2 separate regions of the Homo sapiens genome follow, and region 2 is linked to region 1. The links are contacts of gene promoters, found by promoter capture Hi-C in blood cells and fetal thymus (Javierre and others, 2016). All regions are on one chromosome and are shown on one strand. Each heading gives the region's core, a stretch centred on a gene start or on the middle of the fragment in contact. The rest is flanking DNA. Distances are from core to core; before and after follow the strand shown. Region 1 holds the start of RMND5B (required for meiotic nuclear division 5 homolog B). Region 2 has its middle 43 kb from the start of N4BP3.

Region 1 (6,502 bases), core at 2,298-4,797:
ATCTTCACCAGGCGCAAGGAATTGTGTTTGTCTTTGACAAACTTCATGATTAATAGATTGAAATTTCATGTCCACTGGTCCTAAGCCTTCCTCCCCAAGGTCTCACATATACAGAAATTATCCACCAGGATGACCCTCCGAAACACATAGCAGATCCTGTTACCTTTTGCCCAACACTACCATGGTTGACATATAAACCCTTTGCAATAATGTATTTGCTTCCTTTGCACAAGTTGTTCCCATTTTTAGAGTGCCCTCTGCACTTCTTTGTATAGAGTACGTAAGCTGTAGTTAAATTATCACCTCCCCTTGAGCCCTCAGTGAAATCTCCCTGCCTCCTTTTCTGCTTCATAACCTGGCAAGAGTGGCCACACCACACCCATCGAGTCCTCAGCTACTGCAGCACAGTAACAGCCTGTCCACGTCAGCCTCCTCCATTGGTCTGTGAGCTGCTCGATGGCTGGAATGTAGTCTTGTCCTTTCTCCCCCTCAGTGCCCAGACTAGGGCCTGGTCCATGGTAGATGCTCAGTAAACATTTGTTGATTGGGGCAGGGCGCGGTGGCTCACGCCTGTAATCCCAACACTTTGGGAGGCCGAGGCGAGTGGATCATGAGGTCAGGAGATCAAGACCATCCTGGCTAACACGGTGAAACCCCATCTCTACTAAAAAAATACAAAAAATTAGCCGGGTGTGGTGGCGGGCACCCGTAGTCCCAGCTACTCGGGAGGCTGGGGCAGGAGAATGGTGTGAACCCGGGAGGTGGAGCTTGCAGTGAGCCAAGATTGTGCCACTGCACTCCAGCCTGGGAGACAGCGTGAGACTCCGTCTCCAAAAAAAAAAAAAATTGTTGATTGGCCGGCGCAGTGGCTCACACCTGTAATCCCAGCACTTTGGGAGGCTGAGGTGGGTGGCTCACCTGAGGTCAAGAGTTTGAGACCCGCCTGACCAACATGGTGAAACTTCGTCTCTACTAAAAATACAAAAATTACCGAGGCGTGGTGGCGGGCACCTGTAATCCCAGCTACTCAGGAGGCTGAGGCAGGACAATCGCTTGAACCTAGGAGGTGGAGGTTGCAGTGAGCCAAGACCACGCCATTGCACTCCATCCTGGGCAACAAGAGCAAAAACTCCGTCTCAAATTTAAAAAAACACACACACACATTTGCTGATTAAATGACACATCCATTTCCTAACTGCGCTGGAGAACCTGAGCTCAAATGTGTAGGAGTGGGTAGAAAAGAGACATGAGTGAAATATTAAAATCTCCACAAAGGCATGTATGGAGGTTTATCCTGGAGTATTTAGCATCCTGAAACAAGGGGCTCCTGTGTAAGGAGAAAGGAAGTTTGAGCAAATCATAAAGGTCCCTTTTGCCTGACAAAGATTAGACAACATCGGCTGGGCGTGGTGGCTCATGCCTGTAATCCCAGCACTTTGGGAGGCCGAGGCAGGCGGATCACAAGGTCAGGAGTTTGAGACCAGCCTGACCAACATGGCGAAACCCTGTCTCTACTAAAAATACAAAAATTAGCTGGGCGTGGTGGTGCGTGCCTGTAATCCCAGCTACTCGGGAGGCTGAGGCAGGAGAATTGCTTGAACCCAGGAGGCAGAGGTTGCAGTGAGCTGAGATGGCGCCACTGCACTCCAGCCTGGGCGACAGAGTGAGACTGTCTCAAAAAAACAAACAAACAAACAAAAACAAAAAAAAAAGATTAGACAACCTCCATTGACCCAATTCTTAACGCTTTTTTTTTTTTTTTTTTTTTTTTGTGAGGCAGGGTCTCTTCAGTTAATAGGGTTGCTTAAAAAAAAAAAAAAAAAGAGAGAGACAGGGTCTCAATCTGTTTCCCAGGCCAGAGTGCTGTGGTACAATCAGGGCTCACTGCAGCCTCGACCTCCTGGGCTCAAGTGATCCTCCCACCTCAGCCCCCCACCCCAAGAAGCTGGGACTACAGGTGCACCATGTAGTCCCACCATGAACACTCCTGAGTTCATGACACATGTAAGTGGTCCATGCAGGGCCTTTTCTCCTTTGTGTTTATTTATGTATTCCCTTTTGTCCCTATTCTTCCCCTCTCTCCCCACCACACCTGGCTAATTTTTTTGTTGTTTGTTTTTGAGACAGAGTCTTACTCTGTCGCCCAGGCTGGAGTACAGTGGCACGATCTTGGCTCATTGCAACCTTTGCTTCCCAGTTTCAAGCGATTCTCCTGCCTCAGCCTCCCAAGTAGCTGGAATTACAGACACCTGCCACCACACCCGGCTAAATTTTGTATTTTTAGTAGAGACGGGGTTTCACCATGTTGGCCAGGCTGGTCTTGAACTCCTGGCCTCAAGTGATCCTCCCGCCTTGGCCTCCCAAAGTGCTGGGGTTACAAGCGTGAGCCACTGCGCCCAGCCTAATTTTTTGGAGCGACAGGGTTTCACCATGTTGGCCAGGTTGGTCTTGAAGTGCTGAGCTCAAGCCGTCTGCCAGTCTCAGCCTCCCAAAGTGCTGGAATTACGGGCGTGAACCACCGTGCCCAGCCAATTCTTATGCTTTTGCAGCCGCGACCTCCATCCACTCTCTACCCTACATGTCACTCCTCTGCTTAAAACCAAAAGATTTCCACTGTACTTAGAAAAAACTCCACATTCCTCTCTCTGACCTACAGACTCTATGTGACCAAACCCCAATTATCCGACCTCATCTCCTACCACTCTTTCCCTTTCTTACCATACTTTAGCCACACTAGCTTGCTTTCTGTTCCTTGACTATACTCTCAGTTGATTTCTGCCCTAGGGCCTTCACACTGGCTGTTCCCGCTGCCTGGACCACTCTCTTCCCGTATCTTCCTAAGCCTGCCTCCTAATTTGGGTCTCAACGCAAATGTCCCGTCCTCAGAGATGCTCTGCTAGACCACAGTATCTAATACTGACCCCTCCGCCCCACCCTCACACCAGTTACCGTGTCATATCGCCCTCCTCCATTTTTTTTTTTTTTTTACTATACAGTCCTACTTGAAGTTTCTAATCTTTCTTTTCTCATTAACCAAAACTGGAGGGAGGAAAAAGCCCATCATTTTCCCTGGACAGCAGCGCCTACTGGGAGTTTCACCCGCATTAACATGCAAACGACAGGCAAACTCCTAGTCATCCTTCCAAAGACCCTGCTCCATAGCCCTGCCGAGCCCGGTGCGCACCTGCTCACTTCCGACCCAGCGCGGTCGCACGAGGACTGGACGTTTGAGTCCGAGCAACTCCCCCCGGCTGAGGCGGCTCTTCGGGGGCTGGGCCGGGACCTATGAGTCTGGGACTCCAGCTCCCGGCCCAGGGCCGACAACTGCGAAGAGAACAAGCCCAAGGGCAGATTGTTCGGGGCTTAGTCGTGGGTAGCAGGGGTTCTGGAGAAGGCTGGGGCCCGGGAGGCCGGCCGAGCTTTCCCCGCCGCGCGCCTCAGCTCCGCCGGCCGCTGTGCCCGCCCTCGGCCCGCACCTGCCGGCTCCCAAGCCCGCCCGCTCTCACCTCGCCCCGCAGCCCCGGCCCCGGCTTCCGGCGCCACTGTCATCGGAACCGGAAGCCGCGGCGGGCGATCGGCGGCCCGGGCCCGCCCATTGGCGGTTTTGCGGAGGGGTGGCCGTCCCACGAGCCCGCGGCTTTGCGCCTCACCGCCGAGGCTCCCCGCCGCGCATGCCGAGTGGAGTCGCCCGCGGGAACCGGGCGGCGGCCAGAAAAGCCGCGCCTGTAGTCCTCTGGGGGTCGCGCCTGGTCGTTTCCAGGTTCCGAGTCCCTCCGGCCCGGCCCCGGGCCTCCCAGTCGGCGGAAGCCCCTGGCCGCGACCGCTCCTCGCCGGCGGGCGGGTTCCCCACCCGGCAGAGGCGTCGGCCTCGCACTCAACCCAGCACCCGACTCCCGGGTCAGAAGCCCCAAGCCCCAAGTGGTTACGCTTACAGCGCTGCCCGCCCTGCTCAGTGAGGGCGGCGCGGGGGCCGTGAGGGGCAGTGGCTGGGCTAGGTGCGCACCGGCCTCGGCAGGGCTGTGGAGCAGGGTCTTTGGAAGGATGACTAGGAGTTTGCCTGTCGTTTGCATGTTAATGCGGGTGAAACTCCCAGTAGGCGCTGCTGTCCAGGGAAAATGATGGGCTTTTTCCTCTCTCCAGTTTTGGTTAATGAGAAAAGAAAGATTAGAAACTTCAAGTAGGACTGTGAACAGGCTTAGGGATCCTGGACAGAGCCTAGAAATCTCAGGAGAACTGAGAGCTCTTGAAATATGAAGTGATGCTTAAAAAAAAAAAGAAAACTCCAGGCCGGGCGCGGCGGCTCACGCCTGTAATCCCAGCACTTTGGGAGGCCGAGGCGGGCGGATCAGGAGGTCAGGAGATCGAGACCATCCTGGCTAACACGGTGAAACCCCGTCTCTACTAAAAATACAAAAAATTGGCCGGGCGAGGTGGGGGGCGCCTGTAGTCCCAGCCACTCGGGAGGCTGAGGCAGGAGAATGTCGTGAACCCGGGAGGCGGAGCTCGGAGTGAGCCGAGACGGCGCCACTGCACTCCAGCCTGGGCGACAGAGCGAGACTCCGTCTCAAAAAAAAAGAATAGAAAACTCCGGGCCGGGCGGCTCACGCCTGTAATCCCAGCACTTTGGGAGGCTGAGGCGGGCGGAACATAAGGTCAGGAGTTCGAGACCAGCCTGTCCAATATGGTGAAACCCCGTCTGTACTAAAAATACAAAAATTAGCCGGGAATGGTGGCAGGCGCCTGTAGTCCCATGATCCTAGCTACTCGGGAGACTGAGGCAGGAGAATCGTTTGAACCCGAGAGGCGGAGGTTGCAGTGAGCCGAGATCGCGCCATTGCACTCCAGCCTAGGCGACAGAGCGAGACTCCGTCTCAAAAAAAAAAAAAAGAAAAGAAAAGAAAACTCCTTTCCTGTCCCAGCCTTTCTGGTCCCCTTAGCCCGAACTTAATCTGCCCACTGGGTATTCAACAGAATTCAGTTCTGCGGAGGAGGGGGTCCAGCCCTACCCTGCCGCCCTGTGTTGGTCGCTGTCCTGGGGAACGGGGGAAGGGGAGAAGATGGGAGCTGCCCATCTGCCCTAAGGAGGAAGGGTGAGGGTTAGGAAGGAGGAGGGAACAGGCACTGACCCCAAACCCAGGTCCAGACTGAATTTTCTTTTTCTTTTTTTGAGATGAAGTCTTGCTCTGTTGCCCAGGCTGGAGTGCAGTGGTGTGATCTCGGTTCACTGCAACCTCCACCTCCAAGCTTCGAGCGATTGTCCTGCCTCAGCTCCATGAGTAACAGATTACAGACATGCTCCACCATGCCCGGCTAATTTTTGTATTTTTAGTAGAGAGGGGATTTTGCCATGTTGGCCAGGCTGGTCTCAAACTCCTGACCTCAGGTGATCCACCCACCACAGCCTCCCAAATTGCTGGGATTACAGGCATGAACCACCACACCCAGCCCCAGATTGAATTTTCTATCCCGGACCCTCTGCTCTGGAGGGAAAGAGTAGAGAAGTCCCCACTCCTCCTCAGGCCTCAGCTGGGACTAGGAACAGCCCTGGAGAAAAAGCCAGGTCTCTGTGTTGCCCACTTCTGCTCCCTTTTTGGTTGGGCCTCATTCCAGGCCATCCTCCCCTTGAATCCTCCATGCCTTCCCCTCCCTCCCCTTTGCACAACTTACTTTTTTTTTTTTTTTCAAAATAGAGAGGTGGTCTCCCTATGTTGCCCAAGCTGGTTGCGAACTCTTGGCCTCAAGAGATCCTCCCCTCTCAGCCTTTGGAAGTATTGGGATTACAGGAATGAGCCACCATTCCTTGCCCTGTTTTCTTTTTTTTTTTTTTTTTTGAGACGGAGTCTTGCTCTGTCGCCCAGGCTGGAGTACAATGGCATAATCTTGGCTCACTGCAACCTCCGCCTGCCAGGTTCAAGCAATTCTCCTGCTTCAGCCTCCTGAGTAGCTGGGACTACAGGTGCACACCACCATGCCTGGCTAATTTTTTGTATTGTTAGTAGAGACGGGGTTTCACCATGCTGGCCAGGCTGGTCTTGAACTCCTAACCTCGCGATCCGCCTGCTTCGGCCTCCCGAAGTGCTGGGACTACAGGCGTGAGCCACCGCACCCAGCCGACCTGTTTTCTTTATAGCACTTGGAAGTTATCTTGCGTGTTTATTTGTTCATTCTGTCTTCTGGCCCCCACTCCCATCACCCTCTTTGGGGCCAGACATGGTGGCTCACGCCTGTAATCCCAGCACTTTAGGAGGCTGAGGAGGGAGGAATGCTTGTGCCTAGGAGTTCTAGACCAGTCTGGACAACATAGGGAGACCCTGTCTGTACAAATAATACAAAAATTAGCCGGGTGTGGTGGTGCACATCTGTAGTCTCAGCTACTTGGGAGGCTGAGATGGGAGGCTGCCTAGGAGGTCGAGGCTGCAGTGAGCAGTGATCGCGCCACTACTCCAGCCTAGATAACAGAGTGTGAGAGACCCTGTCTCAAAAACAAACAAACATGGGCCAG
Region 2 (6,502 bases), core at 2,940-5,439, 62 kb after region 1:
CCGGCTAATTTTTTAATTTTTATGTTTATTTTTGTAGAGACAGGACCTTGCTATGTTGCCCAGGCTGGTCTTGAACTCCTAGGCTCAAGCGATTCTCCTGCCTCGGCCTACCAAGTAGCTGGGACTACGGCCGTAAATCACCATGCCCGGCTAAGATGGCAATTTAAATTTAGTTCACTGCTTTGCATTTCACACCTCCTCTTTTGTCTAGAAATGCATCTTTCTGGAGGGAATCCCCTAAGAGCAAAGCCAAGAGAGCTACATAGAAAATACCAGCCCCTTTGGAAGCGCTTCTGTCCCTGTTCTCAGCGCTCATCTTAGGACGCGTCCTTAGCAGGACAAGCCTCAGAGCATCGGGAGCAGCAGAGGGTGGTGGTGCTGAGTCTTGCGTGGAGCCGGCCTGTTCTCTGGGAATACCAGCGTTTTCAGACATGTTGGCTGGAACTCACAGATGATATTTTTGTGAGATTTATTTCAGATGCTGTGTGTTAGTCAAGAACGGAGCCAAACTCTTTCGTCAAATCATATAATGGAATATATATATTTTCCTTTTATTTCATCTTTAAAATGTTTAATATTTTCTTTAAATGAAAAACAATTAAAATTTTTATATATTTATTTTTTGAGATAGGGTCACCTGGACTGGAGTGCAGTGGTGTAATCATAGCTTGTTGTAACCTCGAACTCCTGGGCTCAAAGTATCCCCTCACCTCAACCTCTTGAGTAGCTGGGACTATAGGCACTTGCCACCACACCTGAGTTTTATTTTTTATTTTTTTTGTAGAGAGGAGGTCTTGTTATGTTGCCCAGATTGGTGCTTAAACTCCTGGGCTCCAGTGATCCTCCTGCCTTGGCCTCCCAAAGTGCTGGGATTACACACATAAGCCACAGCCTTCTTTGCTTTGCTCCTAGGGGATTCCCTCAAGAGGAATGCATTTCTAGACAAAAGGGGAGGTGGGAAGTCACCCTGGATATAAAATATTTAATATTTTCTTTTCTATTTCTGTTATAAAAAGAGGCCAGGCATGGTGGCTCACACCTGTAATCCCAGCACTTTGAGAGGCCGAGTAGGGCGGATCATCTGAGGTCAGGAGTTCAAGACCAGTCTGGCCAACATGGCGAAACCCTATCTCTACTAAAAATACAAAAATTAGCCAGGCATGTTGATGGGCACCTGTAATCCCAGCTACTCGGGAGGCTGAGGCAGGAGAATTGCTTGAGCCTGGGAGATGGAGGTTGCAGTGAGCCAAGATCTCACCACTGCACACCAGCCTGGCCAACAAAGTGAGACTCTGTCTCAAAAAAAAAAAAAAAAAAAAAAATCTGGTGGTAGTAAGAAACTGTTTCAATACTTAGATTTCATTGGGTCCATTTAAAAGATGAATGAAATAGTTTTTATTTTAAATGTCAATCATTACAATAGTTGGGAAATTACATCTCTTGCAACAATTTAAATGTATAGTGAAAATTTCATATATCATCTTAAAAATATGCAAGAGAATACACATAGTTTTAAAAAGTTTTTAAATTCATTTTTTTTAAGATGGAGTCTCACTCTGTTGCCCAGGCTGGAGTGCAGTGGTGTGATCTAGGCTCACTGCAACCTCTGCCTCCCGGGTTCATGCAATTTTTGTGCCTCAGCCTACCAAGTAGCTGAGATTACAGGCACCAGCTAATTTTTGTATTTTTAGTAGAGATGGGGTTTCACCATGTTGGCCAGGCTGATCTTGAACTCCTGACCTCAAGTGATCCAACCAGCTTAGCCTCCCGAAATGCTGGGATTACAGGTGTGAGCCACCGGGCCCAGCCAGAGAATACACATAGTTTTTTAACAACTTCTTTCAGGAGCTACATCAGTCAGGATCATCCAGGATATGCTGCAATTACAAACAATCTCGAAGTCTTAGTGGGTGTAGAAACAGAGATCTATTTCTTGGTCACACTTCCCTTCTATAGCAGGTTGGTGGTGGCTCTGAGTTGTGAGGCAGGTTTTGCTCTTGCTCCTGCTACGTGGCCCACCCAAGCACAAGAGGGCAGGGAGTAATCCTCTCCCATGGCACTGCAAGGTGAGGGGGAATTGGTGATGAGCAGCCTCCGTGAGCTACCAGTGAGCACAACGTTTAAAGACCACTGGACCAAATCATAAAGCTTTTTTCCATGGTGTAGAGAAATCCCACCAAGTCTCCTGGGAAGAGGGGGATGTGGTCCAGGAGGCCCCTTTCTCCTGCCCACAAAATGAGGGAAGAAGAAGAGGGGCAAAGAGAGCAGCGAGGGCCAGGGTGCATGTACTGTTGGCTTCATTTGCAAGTTGAAACTACAATGGGGGAATGCCTGATAGATCCAGATGGATTCAGGGAACCCCAGGGCCCCCAGGGTCTGCAGGTGCATGTGGAGAAGCCTTTCACAGCAGGGTGCAGGAATGACAGTAGGTAGGGCAGAAGGAAGCAGCAGAGAGATGAGCCCGAGGCAGGGCTCCCAGCAGCCCATGGCCTGGCTGAGGCCTGCAGAAGTTCCTACAGGCCCCATGGGAAGACATGGAGTGCTGAGGGGCCAGTGGAGGCCTGGGGTGAGGACACATGGGCTCCAAGATGTGTGGCCTCCATGATCACAGGCAAATGGCTGGAACCAGAGACTGCAGCAGTGGCCCACAGACCAAATGGGACCGGTCACCCCATGGCAGTCACTTGTCCAAGGCCAGACCAAACCAGACCCTCCACTGTGGAGGATGGCATGAACCTCAGGGCATCCCTGGGCCTTCTGTCCTTGCACATGTCACCTAAGTACCCCCCACCCCCACACGCATACATACATACACATACACATACACATACACATACACATACACATACATACACATACACATACACATACACATACATACACAGGGCTCATTTGCACAAGGAGGGGGATTCAATATCATTTCCATCCAAATGATAGAACATTCATCTGAAAGACATCGTCTTTCACAAGATTCTGTTTACACATCTCTAGGTTCAAAGTTGGACTTTAAAAGAAACTCAGAAGAGACTGAGATGCTAAGTTGAAGTCTTGGCACCCCCCACCCCCACAAGCACCCATGCCTTGGGAAGAAGATTCACTTGGACACATCTTTTCTGCTCATCTAAGCAGTGGTGTGAGCAAATCCCAGCCATCCTCCACGATGTGTCCCCTACTGAAACCTTCACACTGCCAGAGGGGGGTGCTGGTGTTCCGCCTCTTTCACAGATGAGGAAGAGAGGATTGGTGGGGTGAGTCGGTCTCACAAGCACATGCAGTTATTTGCAGAACTGGGGCTGTCCAGTTCCCAACCAGAGTGTCCCTCCACCAGGCTCACTGTCTCCCCAAGGCGCCAGTGTTTCTGGGTTGGTCTCACATAGATGGCTGTGGCCGAGCCTAAGCCAGAAAGGCAGGGTTTCCTCCAAGTCATGCTGGGAAAACACTACTTACAGACACGTATGCACTTCTGGGGCCCCCACGATGTGTATGTTGGTCTGCTTGATGGTGTCTCGCAGATCCTATAGACTCTGTTCAGTTTTCTTCAATTTTTTTTTTTTTTGAGAGGGAGTCTGCCTCTGTCACACAGGCTGGAGTGTAGTGGCACGATCTCAGCTCACTGCAACCTCCATCTCCTGCCTCAGCCTCCCGAGTAACTGGGACTACAGGCACACACCACCACACCTGGATAATTGTGTGTTTTTAGTAGAGACTGGGTTCCACCATGTTGGCCAGGCTGGTCTTGAACTCCTGACCTCAAGTGATCCACCCGCCTCAGCCTCCCAAAGTGTTGGGATTACAGGCATGAGCCACTGTGCCTGGCCTCTTCAATCTGTTTTCTTTCTTTGTTTTTTTGGAGACAGAGTCTCACTCTGTTACCCAGGCTGGAGTTCAGTGGCTGGATCTTGGCTCACTGTAACCTCCACCTCCCAGGTTCAAGCAATTCTTGTGCCTCATCTCTCAGAGTAGCTGGGACTATAGGTGTTCACCACCATGCCTGGATAATTTTTTTTTTTTTTTTGGAGATGGAGTCTTCCTCTGTCGCTCAGGCTAGAGTGCAGTGGCATGATCTCAGCTCACTGCAACCTCTGCCTCCTGGGTTCAAGCAATTTTCCTGTCTCAGCTTCCCAAGTAGCTGGGATTACAGGCACGTGCTACCATGCCCAGCTAATTTTTTAAATTTTAGTAGAGATGGGGTTTCGCCACATTAGCCAGGCTGGTCTTGAACTCCTGGCCTCAGGCGATCCACCAGCCTCAGCCTCCCAAAGTGCTGGGATTACAGGCGTGAACCACCATGCACAGCCAAGTTTTGTACTTTTAGTAGAAGACAGGGTTTCACCATATTGGCTAGGCTGGTCTCAAACTCCTGATCTCAGGTGATCGACCCATCTTGGCCTCCTAAAGTGCTGGGATTATGGGTGTGAGCCACCACACCCGGCCAGACTTTTTTTTTTTTTAAATTAATCTTTGTAGTCTGTCTCTGTGCCAATGATCAGCCAGAGCTATAAACTTAAGGTTTTCTCAAGTCTTCTCTGAACGTGCGTCTTCCCTGGGGCACACATGGTGACTCTCTAATTTCCCCAATATATGCAGTTGCTTTAGAATGTTCTGGTCTTCAATGTCTGCCTCCCAAGAGGGGAGAAAGAGAAATGTGAACCAGGTGGGGGCAGGCCCACAGTCCTTAAATCCTCTGGAAGTCACTTCAGTCAGAGGGGGAAGGGCTTGTAACATTGGGGGCAGGTGCAACCACAATAACCACCACCTCTTTGCACCTCAGTGATCAGAAGCAGCAATCAGTGAGCAGAGCACAGACCTCCCGTATTTGGAGGACAGGGTCCTTTTTGTTCACCCGGCTCCCACCCACCAGCTGTCTGCAAGCTGCTCCAGGAACATGTGCACAGCTGCCTGCCAGGGGCATGGGATGGGAGATGGGTGGCTGCTGCCTGCTGAGAGCTGAAATTGACCCAAATTAGCCACAGTTGGAAGCCGTCAATAGACTCCAGAGTGCCAAAATAGTCACATCAGACAGATTCTGCCGGCGCAATTGTTGTCTAGGTGAAGAGACAGATTTCTGGAACTTGCTACTCCACTGTCTTAGAATCTTCCTCTCCCCAATTTTTTTATTTTGAAAAATTTTGGCCAGTAAGGTTTTTTCAAAGGAAAGAAATTGGCTGGAAGATACTTATATACTAACATGTTTTGGGAGGAAGTTTTCTCCCTTCTGAGGCACATGCCTGTCTCTCAGTAAACACTGGCCTAAAGCAAGGTTGGGAAGTGACTTTCTCCCCGACAATATGTCAGGCTGGTGGGAAGTCTCCTCTCAGGAACGTCTGTGAGAAGAAGCAAGTGATTACAAGCTGGTGGATGCATAAGGAGCTCTTGATCTTGGGAGTGGGAAGGGGCCACTCCCATCTGCACATGGCCTCTTGCTGTTTCCCTGGCTTGTAGCATGGAGATTTATGGGCATGTAACTTTTACAGTCACTTTTTTTTTTTTTTGAAACAGAGTCTCGCTCTGTCAGCCAAGCTGGAGTGCAGTGGCACAATCTCAGCTCACTGCAACCTCCGCCTCCCGGGTTCAAGCGATTCTTGTGCCTCAGCCTCCTGACTAGCTGGGATTACAGGTGCACGCCACCACGCCAGTCTAATTTTTGTATTTTTAGTGGAGATGGGGTTTCGCCATGTTGGCTAGGCTGGTCTTGAACTCCTGACCTCAAGTGATCTGCCCGCCTTGGCCTCCCAAAGTGCTGGGATTACAGGTGTGACCCACCATGCCCTGCCATGATGTCACTTTTCTAGCAAGAGGTCTCCTTGTCTGTATTCAAGTGGGGGGAGGTAGAATGGGGAGCAACAGGTGTGACCAGAAAACAGTCTCCCCACCCAGCCCACCCATCTCTTTCCCCATCCCAGGAGGGTCCTCTGTGGCCTGTGGAGGGTGACAGTGCCCCACACTGGGAGCCCTTTTCCTCCCAGATCTGAGCCCCTTCTGAAGGGGTGGGATGATTTGAAGGGGAGCTGCTCTGGTATTTCAGGAGGTTGAAAAAGGAAGGTGGCTGTACGTCTTGTGCTGGATTTCCTGGGCCTGGAGAGGACAAGGGCCATGGAATCTACAGGGAGAGATGCTGGAGCCCACTCAGACCCTGCATTCTCGAAGCAGGAATCCCTTGGGTGTGTTTGTGCCCAGAAGGACTGGTGAAGCTGGCACTGTGTGTGGAACCATCCTCTTCTGGAAGCTTACGCTGCTAGTGGTGTCACTGCAAGCAGGAGGGCAGCCCTTAGTAGCAGAGCTTGGTGGCCCGAGCTCTGGTGGTCTGAGATGCGCTGGAGTTCTTACCTACACAACAGGAAATGTTCAGAGTGCTTTCCTTCCTCCCTGCTTCTCTCCCATCCTCCTTCCCTCCTTCCACAAAGCATTTCACACATACATCAAAGAAGAACGAAGAGAGCAATAAACTCTCTTGTACCTATCAGGCAGCTATCAGTTACCTACAGTGAGCATCTCAGGACCA

The links. Contacts are between HindIII fragments. The CHiCAGO score rates a contact against its expected background, and 5 or more counts as called.
Region 2: a fragment that was not itself captured here is called in contact with the fragment with the promoter of RMND5B in region 1 in 3 of 17 cell types (naive CD8 T cells, total CD8 T cells and naive B cells); the score reaches 6.9 in naive CD8 T cells.

What each region holds. Positions count from the first base shown.
Region 1 is chr5:178,128,059-178,134,560 of GRCh38, reverse strand. It overlaps RMND5B (required for meiotic nuclear division 5 homolog B), which reads right to left and starts at 3,547. Exons shown (of 11, transcript NM_022762.5): 1 at 3,507-3,547; 2 at 3,185-3,324. RefSeq lists enhancers at 1,914-2,443, 3,722-4,373, 4,374-5,025, 6,039-6,502 and a silencer at 3,401-3,990. The HindIII fragment of the contact is 11,712 bases long and covers 1-5,246 here.
Region 2 is chr5:178,066,840-178,073,341 of GRCh38, reverse strand. No RefSeq gene overlaps it. Among named protein-coding and RNA genes, the nearest start is that of N4BP3, 43 kb to the left of the region's middle. RefSeq lists a silencer at 4,723-4,802. The HindIII fragment of the contact is 4,078 bases long and covers 2,151-6,228 here.